Regions from separate parts of the Homo sapiens genome. Here regions 2 and 3 are each linked to region 1. The links are contacts of gene promoters, found by promoter capture Hi-C in human tissues and cell types (Jung and others, 2019). All regions are on one chromosome and are shown on one strand. The core of a region is centred on a gene start or on the middle of the fragment in contact, and the rest is flanking DNA. Distances in the headings are between cores, read along the strand shown. Region 1 holds the start of FBXO28 (F-box protein 28). Region 2 overlaps NVL (nuclear VCP like). Region 3 overlaps NVL (nuclear VCP like).

Evidence for each region. Contacts are between HindIII fragments. The study calls those that stand out against the background at their distance.
Region 2: a contact is called between a fragment that was not itself captured here and the fragment with the promoter of FBXO28 in region 1, in 1 of the 25 tissues and cell types used here (pancreas).
Region 3: a contact is called between a fragment that was not itself captured here and the fragment with the promoter of FBXO28 in region 1, in 3 of the 25 tissues and cell types used here (H1 embryonic stem cells, aorta and liver).

What each region holds. Positions count from the first base shown.
Region 1 is chr1:224,112,678-224,115,652 of GRCh38, reverse strand. It overlaps FBXO28 (F-box protein 28), which reads right to left and starts at 1,542. Exons shown (of 5, transcript NM_015176.4): 1 at 1,257-1,542. The coding sequence starts at 1,523. LOC105373056 (a long non-coding RNA gene) reads left to right here and starts at 1,613. Exons shown (of 3, transcript XR_007066897.1): 1 at 1,613-1,718. RefSeq lists enhancers at 1,480-1,549, 1,690-1,749, 1,770-1,899. The HindIII fragment of the contact is 33,635 bases long and covers 1-2,975 here.
Region 2 is chr1:224,251,286-224,254,360 of GRCh38, reverse strand. The region is part of intron 18 of NVL (nuclear VCP like); the gene reads left to right. Among named protein-coding and RNA genes, the nearest start is that of MIR320B2, 4.3 kb to the left of the region's middle. The HindIII fragment of the contact is 6,578 bases long and covers 1-3,075 here.
Region 3 is chr1:224,268,241-224,271,538 of GRCh38, reverse strand. All of the region lies in intron 17 of NVL (nuclear VCP like), which reads left to right. Among named protein-coding and RNA genes, the nearest start is that of MIR320B2, 13 kb to the right of the region's middle. The HindIII fragment of the contact is 3,616 bases long and covers 1-3,298 here.

The DNA of each region.
Region 1 (2,975 bases), core at 293-2,792:
GGCAATCAATTGTGAAATATCTATTTTCAGCTGAAGAAATTTTCCATCCTGCAGACTGGCATGGTTGAACTGCTGTGTTGACTAGAAAAAAAATTGGCCATCAGTTTGAATTAATATTTATAAGTTCTCTTTTAAAAATGTTATGATTTCCTTTAAAAATGTAATTATAATCCACTTGAAAGTGGAGGTGTATGCCTACAATATAGCATATTGAGTAATAAGAAGATGTTATACACAGCACATTCAGAAATATCTTTGTCCTCTTAAAAACAATTCCCAGCACAGATTTAGCTTCTCCATGGAATCGGTTTGCAATCACTTCAAAATGTCCACCTCCTTCAATTTCTTTACCACTTAAAGATAATTTCATTGAAAGGCAGCAAAATATCTAACTGAACTAACAATCACCACATCTTCAAACCTCTGGAGTGAAGTAAAACCCCAATGGCAAATTCATTATTTTTAAAAATCATGGACTGACCTATTGTGATTTTAAGGTATAAAGAAACCTCTCCTAAAGCAGGTGGGTGGGCGTAAATCACTAGTTAAAAATAAATTGCAAAAGAGAAAAAACCCGTCAAGGGGTAAGTTGCTTCTCTACGGTGGGAAGCGTTAGGATGAGGCAAAGCAGGAATGGTCATTTCCCAAGGCTCTACTTTAGTGGTCAATTAGGGCGCTGGGGCTAACGCTAAGTAAACACGTTCGAATTCTTCGGAACCTCTACCTGGGTTTGGGGTCACTGAGCCACCTTAGTCTACTCAATCTTCTCGAACAAGAAAACTTGGGTGGTTGGGGTGGGGAACAATTCGTTATTCTTGCAAGATAAACCAAACCTGGCTGGGATCATCTGCCTACTTCTGAGTTTTCTCCCCAAACCCAGGCCGGGGGCTGGAAGCGGCATACAAAAGGCAGGCGACATGACCTCTCCGGGTCTACTCTCGGGCCAGGCGGAAGGTGGGAAGACCAACTCCGCTACCCCTCCCGTAGAGGGCCCGCTTCCGGGCGGGGGGCAAGGAGCCCCCAAGGCGAAGTCCCCTCAGGAAGTAACCCCAGCTCCGCAGCTAGGACGCAATCGGGAACCAGCCCACTCCTGCTGACTGACGCCAAGGGAGAGTTCGGGACGGGAGCGGCTCCCTCCCAGATCTGTAGCCGGCTGGGGCTCGCGGGGGGCTCCCTTCCCGGGGAACGCGCTCCCTTCTCATCTCCCAGACCTCGGCCGGGGGGAGAGGGAGGCAGGAGTTCTGCGGGGGCCTCACCAGGCGGAGCTGGCTAATTTCGTCGTAGGACATAAAGCTGAGGATGTTCTCGATGGCTACGATGGGCAGCGCCACAAGCGTGTTGTTTTGAGGCAGCTGGTCCGGAGCCAGCGCGGGGGCTGGGAGCGCCTGGGACCCCGGCTGCGGGTGCTGTGGCGCGGGCGGTGGAGGCTGTCGCTGGGTAGAGCCGGAGGCCAAAGAGGAACCGCCGTCGCCTTGGCCGCCGCCTCCTTCCTCTGCCATCCGCTCCTCCGCCGCTGCCGCCATCTTGGGGGCTTGATTCCTTACCCCCACAGCAAGGGGAACAGGGACACTTCCGGTGCGTCACTTCCTCCTCCTGCAGCCGCCGGGGAAGGGGTACCTGGAGGAGTGGGGAGGAGCCTGTGGGATAACAGGCGGAGAGAGACTCACAGGGTGCCTTTCAAGTGGAAGTCAGGGAAGATCATGTAAACCTCAAGAAAGGTGGTCATCCTAGACCCTTTTGTCTAAGATTAGTAACTACTTGAGAGCAAGGAAACCCTATTTATTAAAATGAACTTCACTGTGCAGTTTTCTTAAAGGGCTTCCTGACAATGGATGATAAAGATGTTGCCTAGTAAGTGTAGATGGAAATAATGTAGTTAGACTAGCACCATTTTTTAGGAATCATAGAAATGATTGATTTAGGCAAATAAAAAGGTATGAAATATCAATAAGAACTACAACATGAATGAACCGTGAGAACATATTAAGTGAAATAAGTTAGACACAAAGGACCACATATTGTATGATTGCATTTATATAGGATGTCTTAAATAGGCAAATCCATAGAGATAAAAAGTAGATTAGTGGTCGCCAGAGGCTGGGGGAAATGGGGAAATGAGTGCTAATGGGTGAAGGGTTTCATTTTCGGGGTGATAAAAATGCTCTGGAATTAGCGGTGATGGTTACACAACCGTATGAATATACAAAAACCACTGAATTACTATATACTTTAATGAATTTTATCATATATGAATTGTATTCTAATAACTGATTTAGGCAAGAATCATCAAAAGGTACTAAAACTAGGAGGTAAACGTGATGAGGAACATGATATTTCCATAGTCTCAAAATAACTCCCCATAAATTATGTATTATTTACAAAGATGAAAAGAAATAGTTTACAAGGCTGGGCGTGTTGACTCACGCCTGTAATCCAGCACTTTGGAAGGCTGAAGCGGGAGAATCACTTTAGCCCAGAAGTTGGAGACCAGCCTGGGCAACGTGGAGAAACCCCATCTCTACAAAAAATACAAAAAATTAGCCAAATGTGGTGGCTAGGTCCTATGGTCCTAGCTACTCGTGAGGCTGAGATGGGAGGATTGCTTGAGCCACACGAGTTCGAGGCTGCAGCGAACCGTCAGCCTGCCACTGCACTCCAGCCTGGGCAACAGAGCGAGAAAAAAAAAAAAAGTTTACAATAGAGAAATTTGGTGGACACCATCATAACCAAATGATCAAGACTAACGCCACAGTTATAGGAGGAGCCAATATCATATGCCTATTAATATAATACCCTGAAAAGGACGCAGCATAATGTAGTATTCATGCAAAAAAAGCACGAGTTGCGTTTGAGGTAGACATCGCTAGATGACGGGCCCATAAATTATTCAAAAGTGTTAACGTTACAAAAGACAAAGACTAAGGGTTTGTGGCAGATTAAAGGATACTAAAGAGACAGGGCAACTAAATCTATGG
Region 2 (3,075 bases), core at 576-3,075, 140 kb before region 1:
CTAGCACTTTGGGAGGCCAAGGCAGGTGGATCACGAGGTCAGGAGTTCGAGACCAGCCTGACCAATATGGTGAAACCCCGTCTCTACTAAAAATACAAAAGTTAGCCGGGCATGGTGGTGGTCACCTGTAATCCCAGCTGCTCAGGAGGCTGAGGCAGGAGAATGAACTTGAACCCGGGAGGCAGAGGTTGCAGTGAGCTGAGATCATGCCACTGCACTCCAGCCTGGGCGACAGAGTGAGACTCCATCTCAAAACAAAAAAAAACATGTTGTACAACCTAAATATATACCATTTTTCTTTGTCAGTTTACAAAATTATTTAATCAACTTTAAACATAAAAATGGCCAAAAGATTTGTACAGTTACTTCACCATAGGAGGTGTACAAATGGCAAACTCATGAAAAATGCTTCACACCATTAGTCACTAGGGAAATGCAAATTAAAGCCACAGTAAGCACTACAAACCTTAGAATAACTAAAAGATTGAAAAGACTGGCTGTGCCAAATGTTGGCAAGGATATGGAGGAACTGGAACTTTCATGCACTGATGATGGGAATGTAATGGTACAAGTAGTTTGGAAAACAGTTTGGCAATTTCTTTTTTTCTTTTCTTTTTTTTTTTTTTTTTGAGACCGAGCCTTGCTCTGTCCCAAGGCTGGAGTGCAGTGGCCTGATCTCGGCTCACTGCAACCTCCGCCTCCTGAGTTCAAGTGATTCTCCTGCCTCAGCCTCCTGAATAGCTGAGATTACAGGCATGTGCCACCACGCCTAGCTAATTTTTGTATTTTTAGTAGAGACGGGGTTTCACCATGTTGGCCAGGATGGTCTCAATCTCTTGACCTTGTGATCCTCCCGCCTCAGCCTCCCAAAGTGCTGGGATTACAGGCGTGAGCCACTCCACCCGGCCAGCAATTTCTTAAAAGTTAAGCATATACCTACAGTTTGATATGGCCATACTACTGGTATCTTACACTTAGGTAATTTACTGAAGAGAAATGAAAGCATATACAGCCTGGGAGCCGTGGCTCAGGCCTGTAATCCCAGCACTTCGGGAGGCTAAGGCGGGTGGATCATGAGGTCAGGAGCTCAAGACCAGCCTGGCCAAGATGGTGAAACCCTGTCTCTACTAAAAATAGAAAACTTAGCCGGGCGTGGGGGGCAGGGGGGCACACTTGTAATCTCAGCTACTTGGGAGGCTGATGCAGAGAACTGCTTGAACCCAGGAGGCAGAGGTTGCAATGAGCCGAGATCGCCCCACTGCACTCTAGCCTGGGTGACAGAGTGAGACTCTGTCATTAAAAAAAAAAGCATATACAAAGACTTGTACAAGAAAATTACTGACACATGAAACAACTTGGGTGAAACCCAAAATGATTATGTTGCATGAAAGAAAGCACAGTACATATTGTATAATTCCACTTACATAAAACTTTAGAAAATGCAAACTAATCTATAGTGCCAAAACAGATAGGTGGCTGCCTAAGGATAAAGGAGAGCAGGTAAGGGCAGGAGAGAAAGGTTACAAAGGAGTCCTCAATAATTTTTAAGAGTGCAAAGGGATTCTGAGACATGAATATTTGACAACCTCTGCTCTGTAGAGTCAGAAGACCCTTAGGCTTGTTGAACCATGCTCTAGTATGATATTGAAAGTGTTATGCAGTAATATTCTTTCCTATTTCCAAGTATGGAATCCTAGCATTCCAAGAGAGAATTCCAACAATGTGCTGAATAGTGATGAAACCATTGAATAATAAGTATATGGGTTCCATAAGGTGGTTAAAGAACAACATCTAACAGGTTTGGAATTTTAGCTAAAAAGGGAATAATAATAATTTACCTCTTTGTAGAGGAGTAACTCATTGGTTAAGTCTTAGTAGGTTTATTAGAAACGTGAATCTCATTAATTATAGCCTGTGTCTGAACATTGTGAGCTATAAGAACCCTCATATTAATGGTTAAGGGACTGTTGGAAATGATGTGATTTTATTAAAAATGGGGTCTTTGTGGAGGAGTCAGGAATGGTCAAAATGAGCTTCAGGTATGGGGCTTGCTCTGTGCTCCTGATACCAAGGGTCTGGCAAGCACAAAGGAAGGTGAGAGAGTTTATCTGGGGGGACTCAAGGAAAACTTCCTGAAAGAGGTGTCCTTTGAGAATTCCCACAGGTATAAATGAGGAGGGAGGCACTTCAGGGAAGGGAACCACTGAGAGCACAGAGAAGGCAAGAAGCTTCTGGATTGTTTAGGGAACAGCAAGACATCTGGTGTAAACAGGGCGTGGGAGTTGGAAGAATGTGTAGGAAGAATAAAACCAGAAAGGAAGATGGTCAGATCCTAAAGGGATTTCCTGCCATAGTGACAGCTGGAGGATTCATTCTGCAGTGGGAGCGGAATTTGAGAGAATTGGACGTGTATTTTAGGACAATAACACTAGCGGCATTGTAAAGAGGCCCAGAGAGAGGAAGTCTAGAGGCAGGACCATTTAGGAGGACTCACATTTTGCCTTTACTGAGGGTTGACGTAATCAGAGGAATGCTTGATGGAAATTGGTTAGAGGGAAGGGAGAAACCTGCCTGGTATTTGGGAGGTAGGGTGGGGTGGAGTGGTGTGGTGATCATTATCTGAGATAGGGAATCCTGGAAGAAGAGCAGTTTGGGGCCGGAAGGTGGGGTGGACTTTTCATTTACTTAAGGACATGTTTTGTTTTTTTGTTATTGTTTTTGAGACAAGAGTCTTGCTCTGTCGCCCAGGCTGGAGTGCAGTGGCACGATCTCCGCTCATTGCAGCCTCCGCCTCCCAGGTTCAAGTGATTCTTCTGCCTCAACCTCACAAGTAGCTGGGATTACAGGTGTGGACCACCACACCCAGCTAATGTTTTGTTTTTTTTAGTAGGCACAGGGTTTCACCATGTTGGCCAGGCTGGTTTCAAACTCCTGACCTCAGGTGATCTGCCACCATGCATAGCCGAAGAGATGTATTTTGATGAGCAGAAGCTTTTCATTTAAATAAAATGCAATTTATTAATTTTTTATTTTTTATAAAGAGGTTATTCTCATCTCATGTTAATTGCTTTTTTT
Region 3 (3,298 bases), core at 249-2,748, 160 kb before region 1:
AAAATTTATATTTTACGCTTCTGTTTTGTTGTTGTTGCTGTTGTTTGAGACAGGGTCTTACCCTGTCTCCCAGGCTGGAGTGCAGTGGTGTGATTGTAGCTCACTGCCTGCTGCCTTGAGCTCCTGGGCTCAAGAAATGATCCCACCTCAGCTGCCTGAGTAGCTAGTAGTACGGGTGTGCACCACCACACCCAGCTAAGTTTTTGTTTTTAGAGGTGGGATCTTGCTGTGTTGCCCAGGCTTGTATTGAACTTCTGGCCTCAAGCGATCCTCCTGCCTCAGCCTCCCAAAGTGCTGGGATTACATCATGCCTGGACCTAGGCTTCTATTTTTTATATAAATGTGGTCATTCTGTCTTGATGACTTTCTCATGTACGTAATAACTTAAAAATAGATATTGTATAATAGTCTGGATACAGCAGAATTTACATAATAATTCTCCTGTTTTGGACATTTAGATTGTTTCCAGTTGTAAATAGAACTCTGCTGAACTTGTTTCACGTATTTTTGTGCACCTGTGATGGGACTATATGAGATAGATTTTTGGAAGTGAAAATCAGGGTTGAAGATTGATATATATTAGATTTTGAAAAATAATGCTGTATCATCCTTCACAAAAACTGTCAGTTACATGTGCCCACCAACAGTGTGTGAAAATAACCATTTCCTATCAACAATGGATTATACCTGTCTTTTTATTTTTTGGCAGTTTTATTGGCAAATCATATTACATTTTAGTATACATGTCCCTGATTACCATGAGGTTGACTATCTCCAGTGATTTGAAATTATTTGATCTTATCTTTCAACCCTTTTGCTATTGCTGTCTTTTTCTTTTTTTACATTAATTGGTACTCTATGATGGAAAGTAGTCTTTTATTTAATTATGTGTTGACACTATTTTTCCCAGTCTTATGACTTATATTTAATTTTATTATATAGAATATTATAGGTTTTGTTTGTTTGTTTGTTTGTTTTCTGTTTTGAGAGTCTCACTCCGTCGCCCAGGCTGGAATGCAATGATGCAATCTTGGCTTACTGCAGCCTCCGCCTCCCGGGTTCAAGCAATTCTTCTGCCTCAGCTTCCCGTGCAGCTGGGATTACAGGTTCCCACCACCATGCCCAGCTAATTTTTTGTATTTTTAGTAGAGATGGGGTTTTGCCATGTTGGCCAGGCTGGTCTTGCACTCCTGACCTCAGGTGATTCACATGTCTCGGCCTCCCAAAGTGCTGGGATTACAGGTGTGAGCCACAATGCCCGGCCAGAATATTATGGCTTTAATGCAGCAAAATCTATCAGTCATTCTTGTATTGACTCTGAGTTTGTCTTGCTTATGTAGAAAAAATGTTTTTTACCCATTACTTCCTTATATTTTTGAGTATGGATTATGATTCTGTTAGTGTTATGTTACCAAGGAGTGATAATAAGGAGCACCAATTTTTTTTTTTCTAGAGAAATCAGTGGGGTAAGCTGGGCGCGGTAGTTCATACCTGTAATCCCAGCAGTTTGGGCAGCCGAGGTGGGCAGATTGCTTGAGTCCAGGAGTTCAAGACCAGCAAGGGCAACATGGTGAAATCCCGGCTCTACAAAAAAAAAAAAAAGAAAGAAAAAGAGAGAAAAATTAGCCAGGTGTGGTGGTGCATACCTGTAGTCCCAGCCACTTGGGAGACTGAGGTAGGAGGATTGCTTGAGCCTAGAAGGCAGAGGTTGCAGTAAGCTGAGATCTCACCACTGTACTTCCAGCCTGGGTGACAGAACAAGACCCCTGTCTCAAAAAAAAAAAGAAAAAAGAAAGAAAGAAATGAGGTAAGCCCATTACCACCTCTGTACATAAAATTTATGGTGAAGAAAAGCAATTAATGACCAAAAACACAGCACCACTTTTCTCATTTCCTTCATTTAAAACTTTTTTGTTGTTTCTGTATCTAAGTGATTTATCCCCCTCCCTGAATTTATACCAACTCCCTGAATGTTTCCTTTCACTTAGATATTGCTGAGGTAGCTGTACTTTGTATTATTTGCTTCAAGGAAAAGAGAAAATACCTCAGTGTCCCAGATACTCTTGTATGTGTTGCACTAAAAAGATCTGGAACACCTGGCTGGTCTAATGTCTAATGGTGGTGGGTTATCAGAACTTATTAACATTAGTGTCGTCCAGGTGCAGTGGCACAAGCCTGTAATCCCAGCACTTTGGGAGGCCAAGGCAGGAGGATTGGTTGAGCTCAGGGGTTCGAGACTAGCCTGGGCAATATAGCAACAGGATCTCTAGAAAAAATATGAAAATTAGCCAGGCGTGGTGACACACACCAGTAATCCCAGCTACTTGGGAGGCTGAGGTCGGAGGACTGCTTGAGCCCAGGAGGGGAAGGCTGCAGTGAGCTGATATCACACCAGTACACTCTAGCCTCGGCTACAGAGTAAAACCCTGTCTCAAAAAAAAAAAAAAAAAAAAAGTTAGTCTCACCAAAGTTGGTATACAACCTCCCACTGTTAAATTTGACTGGCTTTAAAAATAAAATAAAATGAGATCTAGAATACCTGATATACTGGGAAATTTGGGGTTCAAAAGCTTAGTCTAGGGCCGGGCGCAGTGGCTCACTCCTGTAATCCCAGCACTTTGGGAGGCCGAGGTGGGCAGATCACCTGAAGTCAGGAGTTTGAAGACCAGCCTGACCAACGTGGTGAAACCGCATCTCTACTGAAATTACAAAATTAGCCAGGCATCGTGGCATACGCCTGTAATCCCAGCTACTTGGGAGGCAGAGGCAGGAGAATTGCTTGAACCTGGGAGATGGAGGTTGCAGTGAGCCAAGATCACACCATTGTACTCCATTCTGGGCAACAAGAGTGAAACTTCATCTCAAAAAACAAAACAAACAAACAAACAAAAAAGCTTAGTCTTGGTGGGGTGCAGCGGCTCACACCTATAATCCCAGCACTTTGGGAGGCTGAGGCAAGAGGATTGCTTGAGGCCAGGAGGTCACGACCAGCCTGGACAGCATAGCAAGACCCCATCTCTACCAAAGAAACGAAAGCTAGCTGTAGATTTGCCCCAAGGGAAGTGTATTGTGACGGTTAGATCTTTGAGTAACTCGAAAACATCAGACCTTGGGATCCATTCAGCCTGAGATTGAGTCTCATTTCTTCCTTTATCTAGTGATGAGAACTTGGACAAATAATCCCTCTAAGCCTCACTTTCCTCATTTAGACTGGATAATAATAGGATTGCTGGGGAGGTCCACTGATGAGAACACATTTTGCACAGTGTCTGCATATAGTGACGCCTCAGAAAATTAT